Regions from separate parts of the Homo sapiens genome. Here all the other regions are linked to region 1. The links are contacts of gene promoters, found by promoter capture Hi-C in blood cells and fetal thymus (Javierre and others, 2016). All regions are on one chromosome and are shown on one strand. Each heading gives the region's core, a stretch centred on a gene start or on the middle of the fragment in contact. The rest is flanking DNA. Distances are from core to core; before and after follow the strand shown.

Evidence for each region. Contacts are between HindIII fragments. The CHiCAGO score rates a contact against its expected background, and 5 or more counts as called.
Region 2: the fragment with the promoter of IWS1 here is called in contact with the fragment with the promoter of ADI1 in region 1 in 1 of 17 cell types (total CD8 T cells); the score reaches 9.5 in total CD8 T cells.
Region 3: a contact is called between a fragment that was not itself captured here and the fragment with the promoter of ADI1 in region 1, in 3 of 17 cell types (total B cells, naive CD8 T cells and non-activated CD4 T cells). The highest score is 12.1, in total B cells.
Region 4: a fragment that was not itself captured here is called in contact with the fragment with the promoter of ADI1 in region 1 in 3 of 17 cell types (activated CD4 T cells, total B cells and total CD4 T cells); the score reaches 9.7 in activated CD4 T cells.
Region 5: a fragment that was not itself captured here is called in contact with the fragment with the promoter of ADI1 in region 1 in 1 of 17 cell types (non-activated CD4 T cells); the score reaches 6.1 in non-activated CD4 T cells.
Region 6: a contact is called between the fragment with the promoter of FAM98A here and the fragment with the promoter of ADI1 in region 1, in 3 of 17 cell types (non-activated CD4 T cells, total CD4 T cells and activated CD4 T cells). The highest score is 11.2, in non-activated CD4 T cells.

Annotation. Positions count from the first base shown.
Region 1 is chr2:3,517,542-3,521,104 of GRCh38, forward strand. ADI1 (acireductone dioxygenase 1) reads right to left here and starts at 1,990. Exons shown (of 4, transcript NM_018269.4): 1 at 1,827-1,990. The coding sequence starts at 1,946. LOC124907725 (a long non-coding RNA gene) reads left to right here and starts at 2,005. Exons shown (of 2, transcript XR_007086195.1): 1 at 2,005-2,415. RefSeq lists silencers at 897-1,096, 1,577-1,636, 1,717-2,036, 2,107-2,236 and enhancers at 1,656-2,177, 2,178-2,698. The HindIII fragment of the contact is 6,500 bases long and covers 1-2,571 here.
Region 2 is chr2:127,524,830-127,528,392 of GRCh38, forward strand. It overlaps IWS1 (interacts with SUPT6H, CTD assembly factor 1), which reads right to left and starts at 1,660. Exons shown (of 14, transcript NM_017969.3): 1 at 1,346-1,660. The coding sequence starts at 1,379. RefSeq lists enhancers at 870-1,569, 900-979, 990-1,049, 1,580-1,639, 1,900-1,949 and 1 more and silencers at 1,230-1,339, 1,981-2,154. The HindIII fragment of the contact is 4,097 bases long and covers 1,146-3,563 here.
Region 3 is chr2:118,002,097-118,005,659 of GRCh38, forward strand. The region is part of intron 3 of CCDC93 (CCC complex scaffolding subunit CCDC93); the gene reads right to left. Among named protein-coding and RNA genes, the nearest start is that of CCDC93, 10 kb to the right of the region's middle. The HindIII fragment of the contact is 980 bases long and covers 1,298-2,277 here.
Region 4 is chr2:95,166,148-95,169,710 of GRCh38, forward strand. The region is part of intron 1 of ZNF2 (zinc finger protein 2); the gene reads left to right. Among named protein-coding and RNA genes, the nearest start is that of ZNF2, 2.1 kb to the left of the region's middle. The HindIII fragment of the contact is 1,767 bases long and covers 1,032-2,798 here.
Region 5 is chr2:74,963,400-74,966,962 of GRCh38, forward strand. The region is part of intron 3 of POLE4 (DNA polymerase epsilon 4, accessory subunit); the gene reads left to right. Among named protein-coding and RNA genes, the nearest start is that of POLE4, 6.5 kb to the left of the region's middle. The HindIII fragment of the contact is 878 bases long and covers 1,528-2,405 here.
Region 6 is chr2:33,597,725-33,601,287 of GRCh38, forward strand. FAM98A (family with sequence similarity 98 member A) reads right to left here and starts at 1,575. Exons shown (of 8, transcript NM_015475.5): 1 at 1,445-1,575. The coding sequence starts at 1,497. It overlaps LOC105374455 (a long non-coding RNA gene), which reads left to right and starts at 1,621. Exons shown (of 3, transcript XR_939942.3): 1 at 1,621-3,114. RefSeq lists enhancers at 829-1,018, 1,569-1,638, 1,669-1,718, 1,859-2,088. The HindIII fragment of the contact is 3,614 bases long and covers 26-3,563 here.

The DNA of each region.
Region 1 (3,563 bases), core at 740-3,239:
GATCACCTGAGGTCAGCAGTTCAAGATCAGCCTGACCAACATGGAGAAACCCTGTCTCTACTAAAAATACAAAATTAGCCCGGCATGGTGCTGTGCACCTTGTAATCCCAGCTACTCGGGAGGCTGACACATGAGAATGGCTTGAACTCGGGAAGATGAGGTTGCGGTGAGCCGAGATCATGCCACTGCACTCCAGCCTGGGCAAAAAGAGCAAAAAAAAAAAAGAAAGGAAGAATATAAAAACACACAGGACATTAAAACCACAGAGTAAACATGATTTAATTTTGATAGCCCTGACTCAGAGCAGAACTAGACGGTAGGAAAAACTATGTTTGAGCCCATGTAATAATCTAAAAGATGTCTATTAAAATAAATCTTATTTTATTCTTTGAATACATTAAGAAGCTGACCTGTAATCTCACTCTTGTTCTTGTTCTTAAAACCGTCAAATGCACAATGAAACTCCCCAAGTGTATTAATTTGAACCCTCTGGTTGTTTGGATTGTGGATAAACATAATAAGTCAAAATTTATTCTCCTCTCATTAATGGAAAACTATAAACCACTTGATTGCTTTGAAGAAGTACCCTCCAGCAAGGTAAGTGTTAAACCTTATCCTAGGAAAAGACAAATACTATGTAAACATTAACATGCATGCCCTGTTTCGCACTGGTATGCCAATTGTCACTTCCCTCTTCTGTTATTTAGGATAGAACAAGATGATATCCAAATAGATTATGCTGGAATATTCTATAATCCTTTCCCAAGGGAAAAAGTGTGGTGTCCAGGTAACCCTGTGTATTTCATTTAAATCACATGAATGAAGATTAGATCCAGTCACCCCTCAGCCTATCCCTGAGGCCTACCCTGGCCCTCTCTTTTGCAGTAAACCTTTGTTACTGCAAAACCATTTGCAAATAAACAAGGTGAGCGGATCTGGACTGGTGCTGTGCAAGCAACGGGACACCGGTGCAAAGCCTAGCCCCGCCTTGCAAAGCTAGCGTTACAGAGGCAGGGCTGACACCGGGCCCAGCCGGGACCCAAGCCAGCTCCACCGCCCACTGGAGACGCCCCCACCCCACCACCGAGCGCTACCCCCCGGGGATCCCCGACAGACCGCGGCAGGACCCCGCCTCGATCTGCTGGCGCCCGGTCCCTCCCCCAGGACACTTTCAAGCGGAGTCCCCCTTCCTCCGATAGAAGAAACCCCTGGGCCTTTGACCGAGGTTAGCCAGGCAGGCAGGGCGTCGGACAAGCCCAACGAGCCCACGAACTCGCAGCCCGCCTCCGGCGAATCTTGCAGCCCTGCCGGCCGACCCTTCAGGTCGCTGCCAATCCCGGAGCTGCGCGTGCGCAGCGAGTCCCGGCTGCGAGGCCCCTGACTCGCCAACTCTGCTGCTGAGCATGCGCAGCACACCCCAGGCAACAGAAACGGACCGCCGACCCCCACCAGCCCCGCTGCTGAGCATGCGCAGCCCACCCCAGGCGCCGGAAGCCGACCGCCAACCCCGTAAACTTCGCTGCTGAGCATGCGCAGCACACCACAGGCGCTGGGGGCTGACCGCCGACCCCTCAACGCCGCTGCTGAGCATGCGCAGCACACCCAGGCGCCGCGCAGGAGGCCCTGACCACCCAGCCCCACTGCTGAGCATGCGCAGCCCACCCCAGGCACCGGGAGCCGCCACGAACCCCCAAATCCCGCTGCTGAGCATGCGCAGCATGCCGCGGCTCCCAGGCCGCTGCCCGGCACCTGGAGGAGGCTGGGCTGTGCGCGGCGTTTGGGGGTCGGCGTCGCCCGCACGCTCTGCGAGGCTTGGGCTCGCGTACCTTCCAGTAGAGCACCCCGAGCCGCCGCAGCTGCTCCAGGCCCACTGGGCGGCCGGGGTCGGGGCGGTGGGGTTGCCGCGGGTCGCCCGGGGCGTCGTCCATATACCAGGCCTGCACCATGACGCGCAGTGCGGGTGCCGTGTTCGAACCCAGGGGCCGCGCTCGGAGCCCGTCGGCCGCGCTTTATCTTATAGGGAGGCGTGGACGCGCATGGGAGCCGGGATTGGGCGGCTGGTTGGAGGCAGGGCCGGCGCGGGGGAGGCCCCACGGCTCCGCTGTTTTCGGAAGCAAAGGCATTCAAGCCCCGACCCTGTCCTGGGCACCCTCGGACCTGCCTGAGGCCCGCGGCCCGGGGCCAGCCGTTCGCCAGACGCGCCGGGCAGGTGAAGCTCACCGTAGGCATCGCACGTGCCTTGTGTGTGCTGCCGCGGTCTCCCTGCACCTTCAGAGCAATCTTGTGAGGCAAACGACGTTAAACGTGTTTAGAGTATGGAAAGCAAATGCAAAAAAAAAAAAAAAAGAATAAGGATTTTGTTAAGCTCATGCAGTCCATATGGGCACAGTTGAGACTTCACAGCTCGGATCCCAGGTGAGACATTGTCCTCCACCTCCCCGCTCGCCAGACTTTTGCAGTGTCGGCATTCTGCAGTGCTACCCTGTACTTTTTAAACTTCCTCTTGTTTCCTCTTTTCATCGTTTCTCCCTTCCCCATACACTGTAATGTGCTAGTCTTAGAATAAAAACAAGCTTCCCCTATCCCATTCTGAATTTTTCAATGTAGCTAATAAAGTCCAGCCGCTTGACCATCCTAGATGTCTTTTCAAACCAACGAGTTGAAAAAGATCAGATTATCTCAGCCATTCCCTCAGTCTCTTTAACAAATAACGATAAAGCAGACAGGATTTAAATGAGACTGCTGTAAGAGCACAACCCCAATGCATGCAATTGACTCTTGAACTTCCAGAAATATTGCAAGAAAAATACACACTTATTTCATTTCTGTTCCCTTGCTCTAATGGCTTTGCAAATACATCCTCCTTAGAGAGCCTACCTCTCCACCTCTTCACTTGACCAGTTACTACTCATCCTTCAAGAACACACCTTAGACGCCATTGCCCATTTTTCTGCAGCACTCATGACAAACCTTCATGCAAGAATCTAATGGCAATCTCGCACCTCGCATTTTCTCCTTAAGCCACTGCAATAAGGCTTCGCTTCTCACCACTGGGGAACTGCTAATGACTGCCATATTGCCAGATCCAATCATGGCACTTCTGTTCTTACCAGCAACATTCGTCACAGTTGCCCACGCCCTTCTTGAAACATTTTCTCATTTTCCTTCATGAGGGCATCTTGGCTGCTCCTTCCCAGGCCCCTCCTAGCTCCTGCTCCTCTAACCACTGGTTAGTGGAGCGTTCCAGACTCTCCTCGTCCTGTTCCTATCCACTCACTCCAGGCGACTTTCCATGCTGTGCTGCCGGCTCCTGCAGCCACATCTCCAACCTGGACCTCATTCCAGAACCTCAGGCTTGAGTATCCAGTTGGTGTTGTCACATACATGGCTAATCAGTGTGTCAAACCTAACATGGCCAAAACAACTGATTCCCCACACACACCCCCAAACATGCTTCTCCCTAACCTTTCCCGTCTCAGTGAACGGCAGCACTGACTGCCCAGTGGCTTAATAAAAAAATCTAGGTGTACTCTCAGTTTTGCTTTTCCTCACCCTCAAGATCC
Region 2 (3,563 bases), core at 410-2,909, about 120 Mb after region 1:
AATGAATGGAAAAAAAACTATTCTGAAAGTATCAGGAAAGTGTTTTTTTGTTTTTGTTTTTGTTTTTGTTTTTTTTGAGACAGAGTCTTGCTCTGTCGCCCAGGCTTGGAGTGCAGTGGTGCAACTTCCGCTCACTGCAACCTCTGCCTCCCGGGCTCAGGGCTCAAAGGATCCTCCCACTTCAGCCTCCTGAGTAACTGGGACTACAGGTGTATGCCACCACACTCGGCTAATTTTTGCATTTTTTTGTAGAGACGAAGTAGGGGGGTGGGGTAGGGGCGTAGGGGGGTGGGGTACGGGCATGGGGGGTGGGGGTGGTGTTGGTCTCACTATGTTGCCCAGGCTGGTCTCGAACTCCTGGGCTCAAGCCATCGGCCGCCTACGCCTCCCAAAGTGCTGGGATTACAGGCATAATCCACCGCACCTGGCTTAGGAAAGTGTTTTTAAGCAGTGCATGCCTGGAAAACGCTTTGCAGTCATTAGAATTCACTGTCCTACGTAAGGAAAAGCAATGAACTCAAAACAGTAAAGGGCTTAACGCTTAAACAATTATTTAAGCACTCAAGTTTTCTTTTTAATTTTCAATTTTTGTGGGTACATAGAGGGTGTATTTATTTATGGTGTATTTAAGAACTTTTGTAACAGAACGCCCCAACAGGACTAGCACACAAAGGGAAAGCAAATGCGACGTGTTTCCCACACCAGGTTCTGCCTCACTTATCCTTAATCTCAGGTGCCAAGCACCGTGCCAGCAGAGTGGGCCCCAGTAACAGCTTACAGAATAAACAAACAGTAAAGAAAGGAGACCAAACTTCGGTGAGGAGGAAGAGGAACGATCTCAAGGTGGAGGAAAGGCACAAAAACCACCAGTAAGTGCCAGAAGCGCATTCCTTACTCTATGCATGCAACTGAAACATGGGTCCTGCACTTACGTCCGGTGTTGCAAGCAAGATTAAACCACTCCTAACTAGCAGTGAAAAGTCTAGGAAGGATCCCCCGCCCCAACGCCCCTTGGATTCTCCAACTACTCAACTACTGAAAACTCTCTTAACAGAAGACACCTCTCCTTCCCTGCACACAATAGGAGCTTAACATATGAAAGTGACTTCCCAATTTCAGCAAAAACCTTCGCCGATTCAGAAGAAAGCTTTCCCACCAGAATCCCCTCTCCAACGTTCTAGCTTCGACGCTTGCAGCTGGTCAGAGGGCTCTTGCCCTCCTCGGGCCGGGTCGCGGGAGGGAAGGTTTCGGGGGGCCTCCTTGCCCCCACCCGCGGGGTGCCAGGCCAAGCCCCGCCGAGTAACTGCTCCGCCTCCCAGCCCGGTCCCCCAGGTCCCTGCCCCACCTGACTGGTCGCCGCTGTAATATTCCGAGTCCATGGCAGGCGGACTCTCAGCGGGGAGTGTCCGCGCCCCGCGCCGCCCCCGTCACCTCCTTCCAGGCGGTGTGACCCCGGATGGCGCGGCTAAGTGTTCAGAGACTGCCGCCCGACCGGAGAACTTAACGGGTGCGGAGGGTAAGAAAGCGGTAGCGGCAAAGGCGAATTCTTTGACCTGGAAGCCCCGGCGGAAAAGGCCGTACCCGGCAGGCTGGCGGGCGGGCAGGCATGCGAGCCGGCGTTCTACTTCCTAGAAGCACCGCTGGGGCCAAAATGGCGTCTGCCCACGACCCTCAAAGGAATGCAGCGCGCAGGCGCCGCAACCCGTCAACCGGCCAATGAGAAGACGCAACAGCAATGACGCCAGGCACGGCCGGAAAGGAGACTCCTGGGAAAATTGAGCTGGAACTCGGGCTTTAGTTAAATACCTTCCTCGGGTGGATCCTGGTCTGACCCCCGTGGTAATAACGTTATCATTGATTCTTTATCATTTCCTAGATTCTGTGTCCGTGCCTTGTTTGAAGAGCTTTTGAGATACTCTTCCGAAAAATGAAGACCTGCTCAAATGACTTTTCCGTCATTCAGCCAAACCACTGTCTTTCCCGTCAGGCCCAGAGGCGCCTGGTTCCCGCCCGCAGTAGGCAAGAAAGCGGGCGTTGCTCACTGGGACTTGTAGTATGACGCCCGCGAGCTGTGATGCGTTACTAACTGGCGCGATCCACAGCGCCTCCTCTCCCGGCGTCTTCCTCTCTTTCATTCTAAACAACGATTTAATTTCCTTGTTAAGAAGCCATTTAGCCAACAGTAAGAAGTACACGTCTTTGCTTCCAGAAGGGTTCCCCTGATGAAACACCGGAGGAAGGTGAAGTTGAACTTTACCTGAGCCCTGTGTTCCTGGAAAACAGCGGTGATTAAGAAACCCCCTCATCTATTTGTGTTTCTGGAACGGCACACTGTAAAGAACCACCCGTCTCCATGTGACTCAGATAAAACGCGTGCAGATGACCCCCTTGTTTGCCTGTGACAAGGCCAGAGACCTTTCCCCTTTATTCTGAGCCTGTTAATAAAGCCAAACAGACCTTCCAAATTCCCGCTGATGATATCGAGTGATTAGTTGAGATTAGAACTCTCCTCCCCCCAACTTGTTAGACACAGAGAACATTTCCTGTTCACCTGACTGAAACTTCTCCTGATTGCAAAACAATCCCAACTGTCAATCATCCCACCTTCCTCCCTATAAAAGTCAAAACTACGCTGCCAAGACACTGATCATATCTGGAGTGCTCTCCCTATTGCAATAGGCTGAGTAAAATCCATTTCCTTACTTGTTCATTTTAGTCTTGGACAGAGAGGGGAACATTCTTGCCTTTGGATCGGAGGAGGGCCAGTAGAGGTTTAAGCAAAGACTCCCCAGGAGGTGTAGACATGTAGAAAAAGAGCCTTTTGTTACTACTGCAGATATCTGACCCTTCGTTAGCCAGTCAGAGTATGCTGGCAGAGCCCAATTATAGGCTCCTGAAGAGGACGTGGGAAGAGAAGAAAGGGGAGAAGTGGTTTCTCTCTGGAAATTCCCATTTTCCTGCAAGAGAGTTCATGGATATTCCTTTCCGAAGTGGTGGAAACAGCATTGAATCCAAATTCCTTCTTTTCAGCTGTGGGAATGACATCTTCTCAGGCAGTCTTGAGAATCAAAAGAACAAAGAATTAGCAATGCCCGAAACCGAATCACTTGATAGAAGATATCAAGGCTCTAAGCCCTCTTCTAAAGAGAAGGTGAGAGTACACCTGTGTAAATGGAGCAGGATTAATAGATCAAAATTCCAGGCGGAGGTTCAGTGGAAGAGAACCTTTTAGTTTCACCAGAGATGTAAGTCCAACAGTCAGGAAAGTGGTTGGGTTATAAACAATGCAATTGCCGGATGAAAATTACTGAATTTTAGCGTTAAAACTAACTGTACTGGTGGTTTGGAGAAAGGATAGAAACACTCTGGACACACAACAATGTTCTTAGCTCTAGAAGCCTGCAAAGAAGCATCAGATCTAATTTTTGTACTCAGAAAGCCAACAATTTAGTGAGACAGGACAAGTCTTTCAAATGAATACAGAGCCTTAGTTAAAGCAGTGTGGTTGTCAGTGTAAACACAGCTTACGGAGAGTTCCCAGAGCTCCTTCCTACCAGCTGGCT
Region 3 (3,563 bases), core at 538-3,037, about 110 Mb after region 1:
CTACTGTGGCCTTATAAACAAATACAGTACTATGTTCTAATAGACAAAGGTCCAGGTAAACAAAGGTCACTTAGAACTTACTAGGTGCTTCAAATTCAACAAGTTTTGGGTCTCCCAAAAGTGTTTCTTGTTCAGAGAAGTCTTGTCCACCTTTATCTTTCTGCAGTTCAATAATCCTTCCAAGGAGACAGATACCCTCAAGATGAACATCTGACTCAGGGCTGGGTGAGAGTTATTACTGTCTTATCTATGATTCACTTAGTAGGTTTCACCCCTCAGTCTTAGTATTAACAGTAACTAGGTGACCTAGGAACTAAAGTTAAAACAGCCCCCCAGGGAATGGGCACTAGAGAACACATTAAGAAACAGTGTCTGGTATCTGGAAAATAGCTTCACAAGTTGGGACCAAGGTTAAAACTGCTGAGGACAACAGTAATACCCCACTGATCATAAGATCAAATGTCAGATCCAATGTGTTAATAGAAAAAAATATGGAAGGGGGGAGATTAATCCCTCACTGCACACATTCATAGAAGAGAGGGAGTATCTTCCTCCTAGGAGGGAAGCATATAGGAGAATATTTGCTGCCTCTTCCCCCTCACCCTTCCTCCCTAACAGAGGAAGGGGTGAAGAGTGATTTATCCACAAGTCCTGAGAGGGGCCAGGCATGGTAGCTCATGCATGTAATCCTAGTGCTTTGGAAGGCCAAGGAGGGAGGTCACTTGAGGCCAGGAGTTTGAGACCAGCCTGGGCAACATAGTAAGACCTTGTCTGCATAAAAAAATTTAAAAATTAGCCAGGCATAATGGTGCATTCCTACAGTCCCAGCTACTCAAAAGACTAAGGCAGGAAGATCACTTAAGCCTAGGCGTTTGAGGCTGCAGAGAGCTAAGATCACGCCACAGCACCCTAGACCAGGCAAGAGTGGAACTCTGTCTCTTAAAACAAAACAAAACAAAAGTCCTGAGAGGAAGAAGAAAATTTTCATGCAGCTCTCAGCCACTCCTGGTGCCCTTCCTTTCTGGGCAGCCTGTCTTTGGGACACATGCATCTTTTCTGCCATAAGATATGTTGCCTGCCCCACAGGGGAAGCCAGTGGTTGTCCAGGTCTGCTTGGGACTCACATGGGATAGCTTGGTAGTGAAGCACTAACAAACCCATTTGGCAACATATCTAAGGTTCTCTGTTAAGCTTTTTTTAAAATTTTGATCTCCATCAGACTCTCATAGCTTATTTAATTTCCTTGAAACTTGTAAGAAGAGATGAGTGTTCAACTGGTACTGCTGCCTAAACTCCAAGCTTAGCAAATGAAAATGAATATCAGTTCTGGTTTTGCTCAATGCAGGTCCCAACTAACTATGCAGGGGCACGTGATCAATACAGCCTTTCCTTAGTTACATTTTGGTTCAGCAGGAGGAGAGCTCCCTCTTGTGGCTACAGATATATTGGTTTGCATAGAGTTACCAATTGCCTAGAACCATACATAATAGCTTAAAAACAAGAGGCTGGGACCCACACCACCATCCAGCCTAACCCCCTGCCTTCAGACATGGCATTTCCTGGCCACTCTTCGGAGCCAGCCTACTCACCCAGTTCATAAAGGTCCAGAGAGAAGGCTATCACGGGTCATCCTAGGATTTACAACCCTCTTAAACCCACCTCTCAGAAATTACTGCCAAGTCTGGACAGTCTTGGCAGCCAAGGTGAGGACATGGAGGAAAATGCAGGCAGGCTGGGGGTAGGGAAAGAAAGTGAGAAAGACTTCTTCCAGAAATCTAACAATCCCCTTTCAGCTTCTACCTGCGGCTCTAGGTGGATCCTTCAGATTTCCTAAAAATCACAGAAATTAGCAATTGCAGAGGTCACCAGGCCGGTTTCCTAGACTAAGATTTTAACATGCCCAGCTGTGACTAGTTTGACTCCTTTAGTTTTTAAGAGTGTTCAGTGCACTGCTTTCTTCTCCACTGCAAACAGCTTGAAAGACAGTGAATTAAACCTGGGTCTAAATTCAAGTTCCACCACAACTCTGAAACTTTTGGCAAGTAACTTGGTCCAGGTCCAATACTCCTATCATAAAACTAGGGATAATCCCTACTCAAAGCGGTAGTGAAGGTAAAATAATAAAATACACATGCAAGTGCTTGGAACACAGATGCCCAATAAAATGTTTGTTGTTGAAATGAACTCAGTTATAAATGTAAAATCCCATTTATGGGCCTCTGGCCATAGGACCCTCTGTTAATGGGGCTTCAGAAGAAGATAGAAGTAGAGGATAGAAGCTTATGGAACTCTCAGCAAAGAAAGATGACAGAGAACAAGGCCTCAATTGGGCACATAAAGAAGACAGCTTGAGAGACAACCATGCCGTCAATAGGCAAGTGTGCTCCTTGGACATACGTCCAGCCCACCCATTAAATTGACTAGATATACTGGAAGACGGCAAACATAAGGCAGTTTTAGTCTAAACTGCACCTAACCAGAAACTCTATGGTGGGGGGGAACACCAAACAGAACACATTCCAAAACCAAACAGAAAAGATTTTTAGATGACTCAGTACCCTGTGGCTGTAACATGTCTTCTACAGATAATAAAGAATGAGCTACCTGATGCACTGCTGACTCTGGTGGGTCCTTAGTCACGTAAACCCGTCTCCAGCTTTGCCCACAGTTACAGTTCATGGCTCTGCACTTAAGAGACACACATCAAGCACTTACCAGGGAATATAACACATCCTCAATCCCTTATCCAAACCCTTTGGGTCAGATGTGTTTCAGAATTCTGAATTTTTTAGATTTAGTTCCTTAGAATACCTAAGGGATACATATTATATATTATGTAAGAACCCAGGAAAATCTAGAGTCACACTCTATAATAAAAAAAAATTTATTTAGCAAAACTTATAAATAGTCACATAAGTGGGATCAATAAAGCTATAAATTCAGTCAATTCAGGTTATGTTTTGCTCCCAAATAAGCTTTGTATCTAAACCTAAAAGAAGAAAAAACAGTTTTCAGTGTCTTTTAGATTTCAGAAATATAGACAAGGAATTGAGAAGACATAGAAAAATACTGTGTTCCCATATCTATTAAAAGTATAATGGAATGCTGCCACTGATGGGAGTCTACCATATTCCCTAAGGATATCGAAATGAAAACAGGGCCTAACGACCACTGGAAAACTCAAGGGGAATTTAGGAAAAAAGCACACGTGGGATCCAAGAAATGGTAAAACTAGCACAGAAAAAATGCAATGAAAAGAAATACCAGCACATCAAGAGTGCCACAGGTATAGGAAGCAATCAGCTCAAAGACAGAAGCTTCCAAGAAAAGCATCCTCAAGAAGACAAAGAATTCATGCTAATGAACAGCCTGATTAAGAAGCATAGGCCAGGTGCGGTGGCTCACACCTCTAATCCCAGGAGGCCAAGGCGAGAGGATTGCCTGAGCCCAGGAGTTTTAAGACCAGCCTGGACAAGATGGTGAGACACCATCCCTACAAAAAATTTAAAAATTAGCTGGGCGTGGTGGTGTATGCCTGTGGCTCTAGCTACACAGGAAGCTGA
Region 4 (3,563 bases), core at 665-3,164, about 92 Mb after region 1:
TGGGTGCTTAATGAACGTGGGTGGAATTGACACCAAATCTAGGATGCTGCCGCTCCGTCTTTGCCAGACAGCGCCTCAGATTGCCTCATTTAGCTCCCTGCCCTGGGCCTCCGCACGAGTGCTGGAGGGCTTCATGGAGGAGGTGGGATTTGACGTGAAAGAAAAACAACAACAACAAAACAAAAACCACGAAAGAAGCAGCTAAGCGTTAGGCAGATTTGAGCTGGAGATAGTTTTTACAGAAATGCAGGAACAGTGGTAGACAAGGTTGAAGAAAAGGTACGCTGGGAGCCAGGGCCCGGGACTCAGAGAATCAGGACAAGACTCAGTAGGCAAGGTGGCTTATATAGGTGTGATCCAGGGACTGACACGAATGAAACTATTTGGAGACAGTTATTCTAGAGGTCACATTCAGGACTAGAGAGGGGAAAGGACCAGTAGCAGAGAGCTACTTAGGAATGTATGGTAGTTTTGGAGTAAGATGTTGTGGACTTGAATTATGGTGGTGGTAGTGAAAGGGAAGGATACAGATGACACTGCAAAAGAAGAGTCAAAAGGGCCTGGTGACTAGATTTGGGAGGAAAGAGAGTGAGGTAAGAGTTTGAATTTGGGACACCTGGGAGAACAATAAAACATCTGATACAAATGTAAAGCCAGGAAGAGGCGTTGATGTGTGGAATTGCCTAAAGGAAGATAGTTTTGAGGTGATGGTGGAACGCCTGATTTAAGGTTTGCAGTCATTTGGAAATGCAGGATGAGTCTGGAAGAATGCAATACAGTTGTATTGTAAAATTACAATACAATTACAGGACATGGACATCTGTAGAGTTTGAAAATGGAGCCCTGAATGTGGATGGACTTTCTGAGGGATGGCAAAAACGAAGAAAGTACAAAGACTGAGCTATGGGCAGCATCCATGTTTCCAGGGCAAAAGTGGGGAAAAAGAGTCACAGAAAGACAGCAATTTTAGTGGTTGGAAGAAAAGCTAGTGCAGTATCATAGCAGTTACAGTAACCACTTGAATAAGCAGAAGCTTGTCCGAACAGTGAAAAGCTACAGAGAAATAGATAATATGGCCGGGCACAGTGGCTCACGCCTGTAAGTCCCAGCACTTTGGGAGTCTGAGGCGGGCGGATCACGAGGTCAGGAGATCGAGACCATCCTGGCTAACACGGTGAAACCCCGTCTCTACTAAAAAAATACAAAAAATTAGCCGGGCGTGGTGGCGGGCGCCTGTAGTCCCGGCTACTCGGGAGGCTGAGGCAGGAGAATGGCATGAACCCGGCAGGCGGAGCTTGCAGTGAGCCAAGATTGCGCCACTGCACTCCAGCCTGGGTGACAGAGCGAGACTCAGTCTCAAAAAAAAAAAAAAAAAAAAAGAAAGAAATAGAGATAATAGGATCAGAAATGCATTGGTAGGCCAGGTGCGGTAGCTCATGCCTGTAATCCCAGCACTTTGGGAAGCCGAGGTGGGCAGATCACTTGACGTCAGGAGTTCAAGACCAGCCTGGCCAACATGGTGAAACCCCGTCTCTACAAAAATACAAAAATTAGCAGGGCATGATGGCGGGTGCCTGTAATCCCAGCTACTTGGGAGGCTGAGGTGGGAGAATCACTTGAGCCCGAGAGGTGGAGGTTGCAGTGAGCCGAGATGATGCCATTGCTCTTCAGCCTGGGCGACAAGAGTGAAATTCCGTCTCAAAAAAAAAAAAAAAAAGTAGTTTTCAAGCATGCCATTTCAGGTGTGTGAGGGGCAAAAGCTGAAAAACAGGGACTGGAGAAGAGTAAGTGGTAACAGTGTGGAGTCAGTAGGTTATTATTCTCCAAAAAGTTTGATCATGAAAGGACAACCTAAATGAGAACTGCTTTGCTAGAAGGAGGTCATGGGATTCAGTGAAAATAGTTTCAGGTAGAGGAGGCTTGTATGTCTTTGAAGATGTTGAAAGAAAGTGCTACTGGGGTGGAAAATGCTGGAAGAAAAAAAAAAAAAGACTGGGGTCTGGGCGCTGTGGCTCATGCCTGTAATCCCAGCACTGTGGGAGGCTGAGGCAGGCAGATCATGAGGTCAAGAGATTGAAACCATCCTGGCCAAAATGGTGAAACTCTGTCTCTACTAAAAATACAAAAATTAGCTGGGCATGGTGGCCCGCGCCTGTAGTCCCAGCTACTCAGGAGGCTGAGGCAGGAGAATCGCTTGAACCTGGGAGGCAGAGGTTGCAGTGAGCCAAGATCGTGCCATTGCACTCCAGCCTGGGCGACAGAGCCAGACTCCGTCTCAAAAAAAAAAAAAAAAAATACTGGGAAGTGCAGGGACAAATTCTGAGAGGAAGCAATGTGAAAAACAGTGGAACCCAGGGTATAGGACACAAAGGTAAAGTCCTGGAGACAGACATTTCTGTCTTGTTGACCTCACACATCTCGCTGCCCTAGCACATAACAGCTACTTGGTACATATTCATCAAATAGTGGGATGAGTGGATGGATTGCATTGGGCAGTAGAAAGGAAGAGAACTTTATTTGTTGAATGAACTGTATGATAAATGCTTTATATTAATGGTCTCACCATTTATAACTATGCTGTGAGTTAGGTGGTAAACAACTGTTGGCTTAAGTAACTCATCCAAGGCTTCATGGTTAATAATTCCATGCTTGTGGAATGCTTTCTACCATATAACCCTGCTTCCCTTGAAACTCATTCCTGGGAATCTTTGGTGTGGTAGAAGACAAAAGTTATGCGGAAATTGAATGGTACCCATGGAGGTTTGGAATAGCCATGTAGCTAAGATGGGAGCAGTAAAAGCTTTCTGGACGATGTCAAGGGCTCGTTTGAAGATATAGACTGAATTTAGGGGACATTTTCTCCAGTGATACTCTGAGATGCAGGGATAGGAAAAGAGAACACAGAAGTGGAGGTGGTTCTTGGCTAGCAGTAACTCCCTGTGAGTTTGGTGGATTTGAGAAGTCTTCAGTGTCAGTGAGCTTACTGAAGTGACTGCTGGTGGAGTCTAAACCTAATGGGGAGAGAAGTCTACGGATGAGGAGCACTTTGGGAGTATCCACTGGTTGTTTAATAACTGGGGAGCTTATATGTTCACCACCATTTGTAATTCGTTCAGTGCTCAGTTTAATTAAAGTTGTAATCTAATAAACAAAACTTTGAAAATTGTCTTTAAACATTTAACACTGAGCAGTTTCGACTGCAGTTTTGGATATGGTTTGATTTGTTCAAAAAGCTCCAGTGCTTTAGACAAACATATACAAATACTTTGACTCCAAAGTTATTACTGCACTTACATTTAAACCTACTCTAAAATAGCAGCAACTCGGCCAGGCGCAGTGGCTCATGCCTATAATCTCAGCACTTTGGGATGCCAAGGTGGGGAGATCACCTGAGGTCAGGAGTTCAAGACCCGCCCGGCCAAGATGGTGAAACCCTCTACAAAAATACAAAAATTAGCCAGGCATGGTGGCAGGCACCTATAATCCCAGCTACTCAGGAGGCTGAGGCAGGAGAATCGCTTGAACCGGGGAGGCAGAGGTTGCAGTGAGCCGAGATAATGTCA
Region 5 (3,563 bases), core at 717-3,216, about 71 Mb after region 1:
ACATGCCCATTTTTTTTTGAGGGGTGTCTTCTATTTTTCTGTTAGCTATTTTTGTCCTTTTTCTTATTGACTTATAAAAATGCTTGCTGTATTTTATTTCATTTTTATTTATTTATTTTTTTGACGTGGAGTCTTGCTTTGTCATCCAGGCTGGAATGCAGTGGCATGATCTCTGCTCAATGCAGCCCCCCCTCCCACGTTCAAGAGATTCTCACGTAACTGGGACTACAGGCGTGTACCACCACGCCTGGCTAATTTTGGCATTTTTTTGGTAGAGATGGGGTTTCACTGTGTTGGCCAGGCTGGTCTCGAACTCCTGACCTCAAGTGATCTGCCTGCCTCCGCCTTCCAAGGTGCTGGGATTACAGGTGTGAGCCACTGCGCCCAGCCGTGCTTGTTATATTTTAGATATGAATCTTTTTTAGTATATGAGACGTATCTTTTCCTGCCTTTTCACTCCTTAAAAGGTTGTCTTTTGATACGCATTAAAATATAAAGGTAATCAAATGTATCAATTTTTTTCCTTATAACTAATGCTATTTGTGTTCATTTTAGAAAATATTCCCTACTGTATTGTCATGAAGACATTCTGTATATGCTAAAATCTTTATAGTTTTGTCTTTCATAACAGTGGAGTTGAATTTTTGTGTATTGGGTTGGGGGTCCAGTCTCATTTGTGTCTTCATATTTAGATATCCGCTTGTCCATATCGTCATCTCACTGCTTTGCAGTGCTACCTTTCTTATCAATCAAGGCTGTTTCTGGCCTTTCTGTTCTCTTCCATTGATCTATTTGTATCTCTTTTCCATTGATGGGTATTCTCACATCAGTACTATACTGTCTCAGTTATGGTAGCTTTATCTGAGAGAGCAGATCTTCCCACCTTGTTTTTTTCTAAGTATCTTTGCTATTTTTGAATCTTTGCATTTTCATGTACATTTTAGAATCTGTCAAATTCCACAAAAAGAGATATTAATTGGGATTGTATTGAATTTATAAATTACTGTGGGGAAGAAACGATATCTTTACAATAGTGAACCTTTCATTTTATAAATATGGTCTACTTTAACATTTATTAATATTTAGTTTTTAATAAATTATTTTACCTGAAGAAATCTTGATGTATTTTGTTAAATGTTGTTCTGTAAGTACTTAATATTTTTGATGATATTGTTAATGGTATCTTTCTAAAGAAAATTTTATTTTCTAAATATTGCTGTTTTTAGAAATATAATTGATTTTATGTTAATTTTGCAACTAGCATCTTTCTTAGCTGTTATTCTTAGTTTTTTTACTTAAAAATTTTGTTTTGATGTAGTTCTTAATAATTTGAATGACATATCTGTTGATTTTTGAATTTCTTTAATTACATAGTAGTATATCATCTGCCAATAATAATAATTTTGTGAAGTTCTTTCCAATCCTTATCTTTATATATTTTTTTCTTGCCCTACTGAACTGGCTAGAATCTCTAGTACAGTGTTGCATGGAAGTGGTAAGAGCAGGCATTTTTGACTTCCAAGGGAAAGCTTTCAGTATTTACCTAGTAATTATGCTTACTGTAGATTTTATGTAGATTTTTTAACAGATTATGAATGTTGCATCCCTGTTTATAAAAGAGATTAGTCTTTTTTTTTCATACTGTGTGTGAGCTTCATACAATTCATTGGCAATTATACACTTTTTATCTATTTTTTTTTTTTTTTTGGTGGGGGATGGAGTCTCACTCTGTTGCCCAGGGTGGAGTACAGTGGTACGATCTCAGCTCATTGCAACCTCTGCCTCCTGGGTTCAAGTGATTCTCCTGCCTCAGCCTCTCGAGTAGCTGGGATTACAGGCTCGCACCACCACACCCCAATAATTTTTGTATTTTAGTAGAGATGGGGTTTTGCCATGTTGGTCAGGCTGGTCTTGAACTCCTGACCTCAGGTGTTCAAGGTCCACCCGCCTCAGCCTCCCAAAGTGTTGGGATTACAGGCGTGAGCCACCGCGCCTGGCCCACTTTTTATCTTATCTATTCTCTGGAAAACTTATTGAAAGATTGGAATTATTTTGTTTTTGAATATTTGATGGAATTCAGTGATGCTGTTAGAGGGGTTGCAATGCCAAATTTGGTTATTGTATAATTTAGATTTTCTGTGTTCTTACTGAATTTCTTCTGTCTGCTTATTTTACCTGTTTCAAAGAGTTATGTGTTAAAACTCTACTGCTATGATTATGGACTATTTCTACTTATATTTCTGGGTCTATTCTTTCATTATATATTATGAAACCATGTGATTAGATATATACAAATTTAATGTTGTTATATATTGTTGGTGATTGAGCCTTTTATATTTGTAAATTGGCTATTGTTATTTCTAACTGCTTTGAGCCCTAAAGTCTATTTTGTTTAATATTATTAAAGCTTATCAGCTTTCTTTAGTTAGTATTTATTTGCACGGTACGGATTTTTGTAAATCTTTTAATTTTTATCTTTCCATATATTTGTGAACAGAATTTAACTGGATTATTTTCCTAAATTCAGACAGTCTGTGTCTATAACTGGAGCACGTCATTTATTTATGTTTAATGTAATTGGTCATATCTATGAGTTTGAATTCTATTGTCTTATTTTGTCCTGCTTTTTATTTGCTTGTTTTATGTTTTGTTTTTTTTTTCTCTCAATTTTTGGCCTTCTTTTGGATTATTATTTGATTTTTTTCCCTCTATCAGCTTGGAAGTTATATGCTCTATTTCTATTCTTTTAGTGATTATCAGTTACTATGTAAGTCCTTAATTTATCAAAGCCTATTTAGTACCTTTCCCCTCATTCTCAACAAATTGAGATCTCAGGATCCATTAACTCAATTTTCAAATTCCTCGTCTCCTAATTTATGTGCTGTTATTGTCATGTATTTTTGTTTTGTCTTTGTCAATCTACATAAGGCATTTTTATTCCTGAATTATGCAGTCAATGATATATGGATTTAGTCACATACTACCTTTGCTTTTCTTTCCTTTCTGGATTATTATTATTTTTGAGACAGTTTCATTTCGTCACCCAGGCTGGAGTGCAGTGGTGCGATCTCAGCTCACTGCAACCTCTGCCTCCTGGGTTCAAGTGATTCTCATGTCTCAGCCTCCCAAGTAGCTGGAATTACAGGCATGCACCACCAAGCCTGGCTAGTTTTTTTTGTATTTTTAGTAGAGATGGGGTTTCACCATGTTGACCAGGCTAGTCTCAAACTCCTGACCTCAAGTCATCTGCCTGCCTTGGCCTCCCAAGTGCTGGGATTACAGGCGTGAGCTGCTGTGCTTGGCCTCCTTTCTGTATTTCCGATCCTCCATTTGTGATCATTTTCTTCTTCCTGAAATAAATCATTTAGAACTTCATTTAGTATGGTCTGGTAACTGACTCTCTCATTTTTTTCTTATGAAAATGCCTTGAATTTCATTGTTGGAGGATAATTTGTTGAATATAAATTCTAGGTGGAAAATTATTTTCTTTTAGCACATTGAAGCTATCATTTTACTGCTTTTTTTTTTGGCTTCTATGTTTTCTATAGAGAAATTACCTGTTT
Region 6 (3,563 bases), core at 325-2,824, about 30 Mb after region 1:
TATAGTGTCATTTATTCCAGAAAGAAGCTTCTAGGATTTCATTTCCTTTCCCAGTAAAGGGACCCTCCTCAGGGCTCCTCACAGCATATTTTCCCAGTATCCTGTGAACCCCTCTTCCACCTCACCTTGTACTCTAAGGGCCTAACACTGCCACAAAGAAACTGTTCCTAAAAAAGTCCTAATGAATGAATGGTTTCATGTGTGAACAAGCGATTCAGTCTGAGATGTCAACTAAAGAGACTATTTTGCTGAATGACTTTAACATATGCCCTAATGAAAGAAAGAAGCCCCCTAAAGTCTGGAATATTTATAAAAATTCAGAGCAAGTTTCCAAGAAAAGAACAATAGTATTTCACTGTGACAAAGACAGATGATAAGCAAGACTACTTCGTTCCTAAAAATTTCTACTAGGGTAGTAAATTATTCAAATAGGCAGACTTTGGGAATCCTCAAGGTGTTTTTTCCTAAAGAAAGGTTTCTCTCAAAGGTTTCCTTGTCATGGAAAAACCTAAGAGAAAATTTTGATAAAGAACTTGTTACTTAGAAATACAGCTAGCTAAATCTGTACTTTGTTTTGATACCGTACCTGTAGGTAAGTATCTAACCATACAATTTGTTTCTGGAACCACATTTAGCCCAAGAGGGTCCACGTTCTCAAGTTTAATAGAGTACACTGATCTGGGTGACCCAGTGAGATAACAAACCCTATTTCCAGCTTCTAGATACTGATGAATTATGGTTGAATAAATATCAGGAGAAGGAGAGACACAATGCAAAACAAATACGCAGGTTCTTCGTGGGTGAAGACGACCCTGGTCTAATGGGGCTCAACGAGGCAGAGTATCACAGAGTCAAAGCAAACTGCTGGTGGTTCCCAGGGACGTGGTGATAGGTTAGATGCACAAGCGAGCTGGCCAGCGGAACAGATGCAGCGCCCATACAAGTGGCTTAGCGAAGCCTGGGTGCATGCAGAGATGACTGGGCAAAGGAGAAATTTTGAGAGAAGTGGGGTGGGGTAGGAGGAGGGGCTCAAGATGGGAGTAGGAAATTTGGAGAACAAGTAGGAAAGCAGAATCAACTTTGGCAACCTTTAGAGTTGAGGGGTTAAGGGGTAGGGCAGGAGGATGAAGCGAGGAGAGAAGCTCGGGGAGTGGGGGTGGCGAAAATCAGAGCCCAGACAATGACACGCATGACTGACAAACGCTGCGGGTAGCTCGCCTGCAGGGAGCACTGGGCAGGCCTAGGGGTGTTGGGATTGGAGGACCCCGAGCTAGCAGTGCAGACAGTGGACGTGGCATTGGGGGTGCCGGGGCCAAAGGGAAGCGACAGCCAGGAGCCACGGGGTGCGGCGTGGAGAGGCAGGTGTCTCAGACTGGGGCGCAGGAGGTGTTCCCAGGGGGCCGGCAGCGTGGGGCTTGGGAGACCCGTGCCCTGACAATCTTACCCTAGATCTTCCAACGACTCCAAGATGTCAGTCTCCATGAGGTCACACTCCATGCTACTGTGGTATTCAAATTTCCGAGTCGTCAGGCTCCCCTCTTCGCCGGCAACGCGTACACTCGCGCATGCGCGACTTCCCCGGAACTTCCAAATCCACAGCTGGCGCCTCAGCTCCCGCACTGCGCATGTCCGGAGCGTGCGCAAGAAACTTGGTCCCACTGACCGCCCCACCCCTGCCCACTAAAGAATTACAGGGCCCGCAGTTTTGCACATGCGCGTTACTGGATCGTGAAGCTAGCCGCCCAGAGAAGGGTAGGAGGACCGGCTGCGTGGCAGCTGGGCGTGGGGACCACGCGAAGGGGAGCGCTCTCGGCTCTCGTTATTGGGTGTACGCATGTGCGAATGTAGGGGGCGCGGCGGGCCGGGAAGGAGCTTGGAAGAGTCTCGGGACGCGGGTGGAGTCGGCTGTTAAACCGAGTCTCTGCATCCCAGACAGGAGATCGGGTGGCTCTTCGTAGGGTGCCGGCATGTGCTAGCCTTAGCTTGCAGGTCATGTAGAAAGGGAGAATTCTTGCGCTCCCGTCTTCAGGACGCGGGTGCGGGCCAAGTGCAGACGGCAGATAGCGTGCCATTTGATTTCCTCGTGGCTGCAGTAGCTTTATTTCAGGGTTAGGGATGAGCCAACTTTCCGCAGACTATGGATGTTCAGAAAGTTGGGTCGTTTTCCCTCATGCATTCTCTACCTGATGTCTAAAGCCCTTCCCAGACACTAAGCATGTTATTTTAAGGAGAAGGGGAGCTTCACTCCATAGCAAATAGAATAGAATATTTTTAAATCCACGTAGTTTAGACAGTGAATAAACTTTTTGGCTGTACTGTCATTACTTTTGACATTATTTGCCCGGGTGAAACATTGAGTTCACGATGTGGATGTGTTGTGATATCTTGGCAGTTACTGAGGGTGTGTTTAGAAATTACTGAAAAATCAGAAATGTTTTCAAAGTGATGGCATATTTAGAAAACTATATTTAACCATAAGTTGGCGTACTGTTAAATCGTGTAGGCATTTAATTAAAGAGTTTTCATATTGATACCTGTTGATTTTATTCTATAGTTCTCAAGCATTTTTGTGTCTGATGGATAGATGTTCCTATCCTTAGTAGTACCTTTTTCTTTTCTTTCTTTTTTTTTTTTTTTTTTTATGAGACGGAGTCTTGCTCTGTCGCTCAGGCTGGAGTGCAGTGGTGCGATCTCGGCTCACTGCAAGCTCCGCCTCCCGGGTTCACGCCATTATTCTGCCTCAGCCTCCCAAGTAGCTGGGACCACAGGCGTTCACCACCACACCCAGCTAATTTTTTGTATTTTTAGTAGAGACGGGGTTTCACCATGTTAGCCAGGATGGTCTCGATCTCCTGACCTTGTGGTCCGCCCACCTTGGCCTCCCAAAGTGCTGGGATTACAGGCGTGAGCCACCGCGCCCGGCCAGTAGTACCTTTTTCAGTTTCCTTATTTTGCATCATCTGAAGTGGGGGTAGGTTTTCTGCACTTACCATGGGCACTTGATATGGCCCATTATGATGCAGTCACCATAAGGCTGTGTGAATATTAGTCACATTCTACAGATGAGGACACTAAGGCTGAGTGGCTTAATAATCTTCAGCGATCTTAATGCCTGTAAGTATGAAACTAGATTTTGAGATTGAGGTATATCTAAATCCATATTCCTTCTTTTTTGACTAGTCAAATAAGGATTTATACGCAGGATGTGAAAAGAGGAAAATTTAGCTAGTTGAATTTGTTTAAACTTGTATATATTGTACATAATTACCTTATAATAATTGAATAATTATTTTCCTCATAGGGTTGTTGAAGGTGCTAAACAAAAAGTCATGCCTAATACAAAAATCAATTTTGAAAGAAAAAGGGTTTCATTCTTGACTCACTTTTGATGTAAGCTGTGTTCAATATTGAACTAATATTGAATATAATATTGTGTTCAATATTAGTGAATGAACGAGTGATGACTTCCCTAAAAGTATTAGTATTCCCTTTCTTTCTTTAAAAAAAATCCAGCTTTTGCAGGAATAGTATTCTCTTTCTAATTCACATCGTTAGCTTAAATG